2 separate regions of the Homo sapiens genome follow, and region 2 is linked to region 1. Evidence: promoter capture Hi-C in 16 types of primary human blood cells and fetal thymus (Javierre and others, 2016). All regions are on one chromosome and are shown on one strand. The core of a region is centred on a gene start or on the middle of the fragment in contact, and the rest is flanking DNA. Distances in the headings are between cores, read along the strand shown.

Evidence for each region. Contacts are between HindIII fragments. The CHiCAGO score rates a contact against its expected background, and 5 or more counts as called.
Region 2: a fragment that was not itself captured here is called in contact with the fragment with the promoter of MFSD2B in region 1 in 2 of 17 cell types (naive B cells and total B cells); the score reaches 6.5 in naive B cells.

Annotation. Positions count from the first base shown.
Region 1 is chr2:24,007,877-24,012,746 of GRCh38, reverse strand. It overlaps MFSD2B (MFSD2 lysolipid transporter B, sphingolipid), which reads right to left and starts at 2,662. Exons shown (of 14, transcript NM_001346880.2): 1 at 2,555-2,662. The coding sequence starts at 2,650. The HindIII fragment of the contact is 4,987 bases long and covers 1,038-4,870 here.
Region 2 is chr2:23,850,129-23,854,998 of GRCh38, reverse strand. All of the region lies in intron 13 of ATAD2B (ATPase family AAA domain containing 2B), which reads left to right. Among named protein-coding and RNA genes, the nearest start is that of ATAD2B, 75 kb to the left of the region's middle. RefSeq lists an enhancer at 3,952-4,001. The HindIII fragment of the contact is 4,900 bases long and covers 1-4,546 here.

The DNA of each region.
Region 1 (4,870 bases), core at 1,413-3,912:
TCCTGATGGCCATTCCATTGTCTAATCCAGCTCCTAGCAAATGGCACCGCTGGTCCCCTCAGTGGCTCAGGCCACAAACTTAGGAGTCATCTATTCTTCTTTCCAGTTCTTGTCTATCAGTGAATGCCTCCTAAGTGGCTTCTGTGTCTGCCCTTGCTCCCTACAATCCACTCCACCCAGCAGCCAGTGCTCTTGTAATAACATAAATCGCACAGTGGCTCATCCCTATAAACCCAGCACTTTGGGAGGCCGAGGTAGGTGGATTGCTTGAGCCCAGGAGTTGAAGACCAGCCTGCCCAACATGGCAAAACCCCATCTCTACTAGAAACACAAAAATTAGCCAGGCATAGTGGCCGCCTGTAATCCCAGCTACTCAGGAGGCTGAGGCAAGAGAATTGCTTGAACCAGGGAGGCAGAGGTTGCAGTGAGCAAATATCACACCACTGCACTCCAGCCTGGGTGACAGAGACTCAGTCATAAATAAATAAATAAATAATCAGATCCCATCTCCTCTCTGATTAAAACTCTCCAATGGCTTGCTATTGCAGGGTTTTTTTGTCTGTTTTTGTGTGTGTGTGTGTGTGTGTGTGTGTGTTTTGTTTGTTTGTTTGTTTGTTTCCAGATCCATGGTATTCAGTCAATACCATTGCAGTTTGAATAAAACTCCAAGTCCTGATCATGGCTAAGGAGTCCACCCAGTCGGCCCCCTACCCACCTCACCTCAAATAGCTCTCCTTCAGCCACGCCGGGCTCCTTCCTATTCCTCAAAATCATCAAGTCTGTTGCTGCCTCAGGGCCTTTGCCCTTCCCATTCCTCTGCCTGGAAGGTGACTCCTTGTCATTCTGGTTTGATGTCACCAGCTTAAATGTCACCTCCTCCAAGAGGCATTCCCTAACCTCTCACCTCTCTCAGTTGTACTTACCGCCTGCTATATTTTCATTTAGTTCCTGCCTCTCCCTACAGGAATGTAAGCTCTCTGAGAGCATGAACTCCACCTTTTATTTATCATGGTGTTTCCAGTACCTAGAACAAAGCTTGGTATACAGTAGGTGCTTAGTATATATCCGTTGAAGCAATAAATGGCCATGAAGACCCTGTGTAAAGTGCTGTTTCTTTGGAAGAAGCTGGGCTCTTTTCTCATCGTTTGCTGGGGGCTGGAGGGAGTGGAGATGACATGGCTTCACCCATTTCCACATCTTGCAGGACACCCCAGCAGGCTCTTGTGAAGGGAAGGTCTCCCCAGATAAGGGTTTATCACACTTTGCACACTCTTCCTACCCACAGGGGAAAACCACACTGGGGGCAGGATGATTCTTTTCTGACATTTGTGTGAACATCATTTCAGCTTCCAGAAAACTTTAAGAACAGGCAGAATTCAACGTGACAGTCCCCCTCTCCCCCTAATGGGGACTCTTGTATCCCCCAAAACAGGCCTAGCAAGTTTTTAGAACTTTAGAAAGAACTTCCAAGTGAAGCCAGGGATATGATCCCATCTTGCCGTCTTGAGGATGACAGTTTTACCGAAAGTCATAAAAGCCCGGTACAGCTGTACAGTGAGCTGTACAAGGAGAAGCCCCTTGGGAGGGGCGGCTCCGGGCGAGGGGCGCAGCCCTGCTATCTCTAGCTGCGTGACCCAGGGCAGGGCACCTCGGTCTCCTTGGAGTGACCGGGGCTGCCACCCCTCGGAGAGTCGTAAGAGGATTCCACGCCGGAACTTCATCAGCAATGCGAGTGTTTCCCTCTTGCTGTTAATCTCACCCTGAATTTCTAAGTTTCCCTGGGAAGTGAGAGTCCCCGGAGAGCCCCTTCATCTCACCTCACTTTCTTGTGGGATGCAATCCTGTGCTCCCAGGTGCCTCGTAGGAAGCCCTGAACAGGCTGGGGGCTGAGGTGGTCAGGGGAGGCCACAGAATGCCCTGGGCACGAGCAGGGAGCAGGCGCGTTCAGTGAGGCCCAGGAAGCCCCAGGCCCCTTGCTCCGTCCAGCACAGCCCCACTGGCCAGCACGGCCCGGCGGCATCGGGCAAGGGACAAGGGGCCCCGAAGACCCCGCCGCTCCCACCTGCCCTCCTCCCTTCTTGTCGGAGCCCATGGCCAGGACCTTCCCTGAGGCTGCCTCCAAGGGGAGCCTGGTGCCTGGGCGAGGCCAGGGTCTGGGAGGGAGGCCGAGGCCACAGCAGCTGCCTGAGGTCGGGAAGGACGCAGCCTCCCCAGGCGCTTCAGAAAGCCCTGCCTGCCCAGAGCTCGGGGACCCCGGGAGGACCTGCGGTGGCACGGACAAGACCCCTAAGCCGGGAATCAGGACAGCAATGACCACGCATCCCCAAGTTACTTCCTTGGCTAGGGCTAGGCTTCCCGTCCTAGTCTCTTTCCGGCGCCGGCACCTACCAGCCTCCCCGCTCCCAGCCGTGTAACCCCGCGAGGGCAGCCCCTGAGCTGGCAGGTTTGGGCCGAGCCCCTCCGGGCTGCCCCCAGCTGGAAAAGGGGCTGCGAGGCGACGCCCTGGAGCTCCCCGAGGACGCAGCCCCTTCCCGGTCCCCGCCGCCCCGCTCACCTCTCGCCCTCGCTTGGCGCTCCCCGGGCCGGGCTCTGGGGCGTGCGGCTCCGGCTGCGGGGACCCCTTGGCGGCTGGTGCAGGGGGCGCCGCCATTGCCACCGCAGCGCCGCCCGCGGCCGTTGCCCTCGGGGTTATCGCCCTTGGGAGGGGCGGTTCTGGGCTAGGGGCGCGGCGCGAGTGGCTGCTGGCAACGCGGGGGAAACGCAGAAACCGCGAAGGGCACCCCAAAGGGAAACAGCGAAGAACCAAAATCCGCGGGGGGAAAGGCCCGGCAGGCCCTCAGGACCGTTCTCCTTGGGGTGGATCCCCGGGGGCGTGAGCGCCCGCAGACGGCGGCCCTGCGCGCTAAGGGCTCCGCCAGACCGCTGGGGTGACCGCGGGCAAGCAGCAGCTCCCCTGCAAAATGAAGCAAGAGGCCCGCTCGTTCAGGCTGGACCATGGCTGAACAGGCATTCCGCCGGCTACACATGATGCCCAACGCCTGAAATATACATTGTCGAGTCTCCTATACAGACCACGGGGATGGCCAGTAACTAAGTTCTGGCCAGCGAATAAAAGCAGGTGGCACAGGCCAACATTCCAGAAAAGTCCTTAAAAGGGAAGGGGGGTGACAGCAGGTAGCTAGTCAGCCTCGAAAAGGGCAGGAGAGGGCCACGCTTCCAACCAGGTACGTCAGGCAACCATCAGGCGACAGTCAGGCGGTTGTTATGCTCCCTCTAAAATGATCATTGATCCAGCGGGGCCAGGGAAAGGCAGTCTCCCAATAGATAGAGAAAACCTGAAACTGGTGATCAGCTTCTCGGTAAGATCTCAGGAGCTGGGCAAGTGGGCTTACACAAATTGCGGAGTTTAACTGACATGTGACCCTCGAAGGACACCGGACTGGTAAGGGAAGAACGCCTCCAGTGAGCATGGGTACAACTCCAGTATACACAGTGTGCACACTCCCCTCCCAAGTGCTGGCAGACCACTGCCCATGCAGGCAGGCCTCCCAAGGGAAGAATCAGGGGAGAAGGGATGCAAGACCCCAGAAGTATGCCAATGCATAAGACCCCAGGTCAAAAGGTCAAACTGTGCGCTTCTTTTTCAGGTCACCCGCTTGGCCCTCTTCCAAGTGTACTTTCCTTCCTTCCATTTCTGCTGTAGAGCTTTTTAATAAACTTTTATTCCTGCTCTAAAACTTGCCTCAGTCTCTCCTTCTGCCTTATGCCCCTCAGTGGAATTCTTTCTTCTGAGGAGGCAGGAACTGAGGTTGCTGCAGACCCATATAGATTCACTCCTGCTGACATATTTTGGTGCCACGTGACTCAGATACCTTCCACCAGTAACAGGGGTACACATTAACTAAAAATGCATCATAGACCTAGAATGTAAAACTTATGAAAAAACAGGAGCAAGGGACAGGCACGGTGGCTCATGCCTGTAATCCCAGCTACTCGGCAGGCTGAGGCAGGAGAATCGCTTGAACCCGGGAGGCGGAGATTGCAGTGAGCCAAGATCGTGCCACTGCATTCCAGCCTGGGTGACAGAGGGAGACTCTGTCTCAAAAACAAAAACAAAAACAAAACCAACCAAACACAAAAAACCCAGAAGCAACTCTTCATCATATTGGGCCAGGCAATTGTTTCTTAGGACGCCAAAAGCACAAGCTGGATGAACTACAAAAGTTTTCAAAATGAAAACCTTTGTGCTGTAAACGATTCCAACAAGTGGGTATAAAGACAACCCACAGAATGGGAGAAAAGGGATTTGTATTGGAATCAACTTTCACAACTCAACAATTAAAAGACAATCCAATTCTAAAATGGGCAAAGAATTTGGATATTTCTCTAAAGATATACAAATGAACAGTAAGCACATGGAAATACAAATCGAAACTACAGTGAGACACCATTTCATATCCACAGGGTGGCTGTAATTAAAATGAGACAAGTATTGGGGAGGATGTGGAGAAATCAGAACCCCTATACACTGCTAGTGGGAATGGAAACTAGTGACAGTCCTTTGGAAAAGTTTGGCAGTTTCTCAAAGTAAAACGTGGAATTACCACATGACCCGCAATTCCACTCTTAGGTGTATACACCCTACAGAAATGAAAACATGTTCACATAAAATCTTGAACATGAATGTTCATTAGCAGCATTCATATATATATACATATATATATAATGTGTGTGTGTATATATATATGCCAAAGAGGACACAAGCCAATGTCCATCAGGTTATGAATGAATAAATATAATGTGGTATATCCATACAATGGACTACTGTTGGGCAAGAAAAAGGAATGAAGGACCAATGCATGCTACAACA
Region 2 (4,870 bases), core at 847-3,346, 160 kb after region 1:
GGTCTCGAACTCTTGACCTCAAGTGATCTGCCTGCCGTGGCCTCCCAAAGTGCTGGGATTACAGGCATGAGACAATACCCCTGGCCCAGTCTTTGTTTTGAAATTTTTTTCCAGTGTTCTGGCTTGTATCTTTGTTTGCTTAGTTAGGACTTTTGAAGAGTCAGGATTTGAATTTTGATAAAGCCACCATATAGATTTAAAAAATGTATCTGTGCCTTTTGTGTTCTGCTTGAGAAAAGTTGCCTAAATAAGTGTGGCAATAATTTTCTTGGATGTTTTCTTTGAAAATATTAATAGCGTTAGCTTTTTTTTTTTTTTTTGAGACGAAGTCTCGATCTTGTGCCCCAGGCTGGAGTGCAATGGCACGATCTTGGCTCACTGCAACCGCCGCCTGCCAGGTTCAAGCGATTCTCCTGCCTTGGCCCCCCGAGTAGCTGGGATTACAGGTGCCTGCCACCACGCCTGGCTAATTTTTGTATTTTTAGTAGAGGTGGGGTTTCACCATATTGGCCAGGCTGGTCTAGAACTCCTGACCTCAGGTGATCCACCCACCTCGGCCTCCCAAAGTGTTGGGCTTACAGGCATGAGCCACTGTTCCCAGCCAGTGTTAGCTCTTAATATTTAAGTCAATGATTCATTTTACGTTAATGTTTGTGTATCAGTAAGAGGTGAGGGTTTAAGTTAATTTTTGTAGATAGTTTAAGGTATGGACTGAAGTTTATTTTTTTAATACAGGTATTCTTTTTTTTTCTTTGAGACGGAGTGTCACTCTGTTGCCCAGGCTGGAGTGCAGTCGCGCGATCTCAGCTCACTGTAGCCTCCACCTCCCAGGTTCAAGTGATTCTTGTGCCTCAGCCTCCTGAGTAGCTGGGATTACAGGTGTGTGCTACCATGCCTGGCGAATTTTTGTATTATTAGTAGAGGTATGTTTCACCATGTTGGCCAGGCTGGTCTCGAACTTCTGACCTCAGGTGATTCTCCTGCTTCGGCCTCCCAAAGTGCTGGTATTACAGGCATGAGCCACCATGCCCAGCCTATTTTTTTATACAGATACTCATTTGTTCCAGAACCATATATTGAAGAGTTTACTTTGTTAAATTTCTTGGCACGTCTTTGACAAAAATTGACCATATAAATGTGTGTCTATTTCTAGATTTGTTAGTTGATTCCATTGATCTACAGGTCTATCCTTATACCACTGTCTTGATTAATGTTCATTTTAGTATAAGTCCTCCAAATTTGTTCTTTTTCAGAATTGTTGTAGTCATCTATTATCTTTCCATTTACATTTCTAAAGCCTCTTGTCAGTTTCTTTAGAAAAGACTGTTGGGATTTATTTGGGATTGCAATTAATCCTTCGATCTATTTGGGAAGAATTGCATCCTTATTCGTCTTTCAGTCTATGAACATGGTAATTCTGTTCATTTATTTAGGTATTCTTTAATTTCCTTTTCCTGTGTCTTATGGTTTTAGCATAAGGATCTTAGGCATCTTTTGTTTAATGCATCCCTAAATACTTTATTGTTCATTTAATGTGAATGGAGTTTTGAAAGAAAATTTATTTTCTAATTGCTTACTGCTGGTTTATAAAAATACAACTGAGTTTATAGACTTTGTATCCACAACCTTGCTAAATTCATTTGTTAGTTCTATTAGCTATTTTGTGGTTTCCTTACGGTTTTATACATATACCTTATCTGCAAATAAAGGTACTTCTACTTCTTCCTTTCCAATCTATGTCTTTTATTTCTTTTTCTTATTTCTTTGGCTAGAATTCAGTTAAATAGTAATGGTGATAATGGAAATCACTGCCTGTTTCCTTCATTGGCTGTAAAACATTGAGACTTTAACCATTGAATGTGATTTTAACTAAGTTTTTCATAGGTGCCCTTTATTACATTGAGGGATTTCCACTATATTCCTAGTTTGCTGTGAGAGTTTATTTTACTGGGATAGAGTACTGAACTTTGTAACATATTTTTTTTTCTGTCTCTTTTGAATTGATCATATGGCTTTTCTCCTGTATTCTATTAAGGTAGAGCATTATTTTGATTGAATTTTAGATTTTTTTTTTTTTTTGGAGATGGAGTCTCGCTCTGTCGCCCATGCTGGAGTGCAATGGCGTGATCTCGGCTCACTGCAACCTCCACCTCCTGGGTTCAAGTGATTCTCTTGCCTCAGCCTCCCGAGTACCTGGCATTACAGGTGTCTGCCACCGTGCCTGGCTAATTTTTGTGTTTTTAGTAGAGACAGGGTTTCACCATGTTGGTCAGGCTTGTCTTGAACGCCTGACCTCAGGTGATCCACCTGCCTCGGCCTCCCGAAGTGCTGGGATTACAAGTGTGAGCCACTGCGCCTGGCCTGAATTTTAGATAGTAAACTAACTTTGCATTCTTAGAATAAACCTCACTTGCTCATAATATATTGTCTTTCTTAAAAAATTATTGGATTCCACTTGCTAATATAAAAAGTTTTATTATCTGTATTAATGAGATTTTGATCTGTAATTACTCTTAAAATATCTGCATCTGGTTTTGGAATCAGGTAATTTTGATGTGTATTAGATGAGATATACACTGGGTGTGATGGTGCATGCCTGTAATCTCAACACTTTGAGAGGCTGAGGCAGCAGGATCTCTTGAGTCTAGGAGTGCAAGAGCAGCCTGGGCAACATAGTGAGACCCTGTCTCTTAAAAAAAAAAAGATGAGATGGCATTCCCTCTTTCTCTATTTTCTGAAAGTGTTTGTGTAAGTTTGATGTTATTCATTTCTTAAGTGTTTGAGAGAATTCACCAGTGAAAATACCTGGGCCTGGAGTTTTGTTTATGGAAAGGTTTTTGATTACAAGTTAAATTTCTTCAGTTGATACAGGGCTGTTCAAGTTTTCTATTTATTCTTAGGTCAGTTTTGTTAGTTTGGTAGTTTATCTTTAAAGGAATTTGTTCATTTCACCTAAGTCAAGAAATTTACATACATTTTTTCCTACTATTCTGTTATCTCCTTAATGCCTAAATAGTCTGCGGTAGTATTCTTTTCATTTCCGATGGTGATAACCTGTGTTTTCTCTTTTTTTTTTTCTTGATTACTCCGGCTAGAGGATTATCAATTTTATTGGTCCTTTCTCCCCCAAAGAGGCAACTTCTGTTTTCATAGATTTTCTACTATTATTTTTGTTTCCAATTTTATACTACCTTTTTTCTTATATTTTTAAAAATTAGTAGACTGAGGGGGATTTGTAGGCAGAGTATAAAAGATTTTTTAGGGCAGTGAAAATAGTCTGTGTTATACTGTAAGAGTGGATCCACATCATGATATGTTTGTCCAAACCCATAGAATGTATATCATCAAGCGTGAACCTTAATGTAAACTGTGGACTTTGTAGATTGTGATGTGTCATTGTAGGTTCATCAGTTGAAATAAGTGCACCACTCTGTTGGGGCATGGGTATACATATGAAGGGGCAGGCGGGGGACGTATGAAAGTCTCTGTATTTCCTTCTCAATTTGGCTGTTAACCTAAAACTGCCCTAACAAATGGTCTTAAAAATAGACTATTCATGACTGGGCACAGTGGCTCACACTTGTAGTCCCAGCACTTTGGGAGGCCAAGGACAGTGGATCTCTTGAGCTCAGCAGTTTGAGACCAGCCTGGGCAATGTGGCAAAACCGTGTCTCTACTAAAAGTACAAAAATTAGTTGGGTGTGGTGTGCCTCTCGTCCTAGCTACTTGGGAGGCTGACGTGAGAGGATCACTTGAGCCTGGGGAGGTCAAGGCTGCAGTGAGCCACAATCGTGCCACCGAACTACAGCCTAGGTGAGAGAGTGAGGCCCTGTCTCAGAAAACAAAAAATCTCTATAAAACTGGGTAGCTTAGAAATAGCAGAACATTATTTGTCATATTTCTGGAGGCTGGGATGTCCAAGATCAGGGTGCCAGCAGATTTAGTGTCTGGTGAGGACCTGCTTTCTGGTTCTGATGACTTCTCTTGTGTCCTTAAATGGTAGAAAAGACCAGCTAGCTTTTTCAGGTCTCTTTTATGAAGGCAGGAATCCTCTTTATGAGGGTTTTGCCCTTGTGTCCTAATTACCTCCCAAAGGTTCCACCTCTTAACACTCTTAACACCTTAGCTCTTAACTCTTAATACCTCTTAACAACATTACATTGGTGATTAGGTTTCAATGTGTGAATTTTAGGGGAATAGAAACATTCCATTCATAGCAGGCAGTTTTAGGGTTTCAACAAATGTGTAATGACACGTATCTGCTCTTACAGTATCATACAGAATATTTTCACTTCCCCCAAATCGTCTATTCATTCATCCCCCCTTCTCTTCTGCCCTGCAGAGCCCTCCCTATCTCCCCAGCAACCACTGATCTTTTTACTATCTCCATAATTTTGCCTTTTCCAGAATGTCATATAGTTGGACTCAAACAGTATGTAGTTTTTTCAGATTGGCTTCTTTTATATAGCAGTATGTATTTCAGGTCTCCCAAGTCTTTTCTGTTTGTTTTTAATTTAACTCCCTTTTTCAGATTAAGATGGAAGCTTAGAAATTGATTGAAACTTTTCTTTTTTTCTAATATAGGCATTGACACCTGTAAATTTCCCTCTAAGCAATGCTTTAGCTACATCCCACAGTTTTTGACATGTATTCACTGTCATTCAGTTCAAAATAATTTCCAATTCCTCTTGTCATTTTTTCTTTGACACAGTCATTGTGTATTTAATTTAGATGTGTATTTAATTTACAAATAGCTGTGGTTATTTTTCCTGATTATTTTATTGTTATTTACTTCTAATTTAGTTTTATTGTGATCTAGAGATCATAACTCTTAAAGTCATTTTTTTTTTTTTTTTTTTTGAGACGGAGT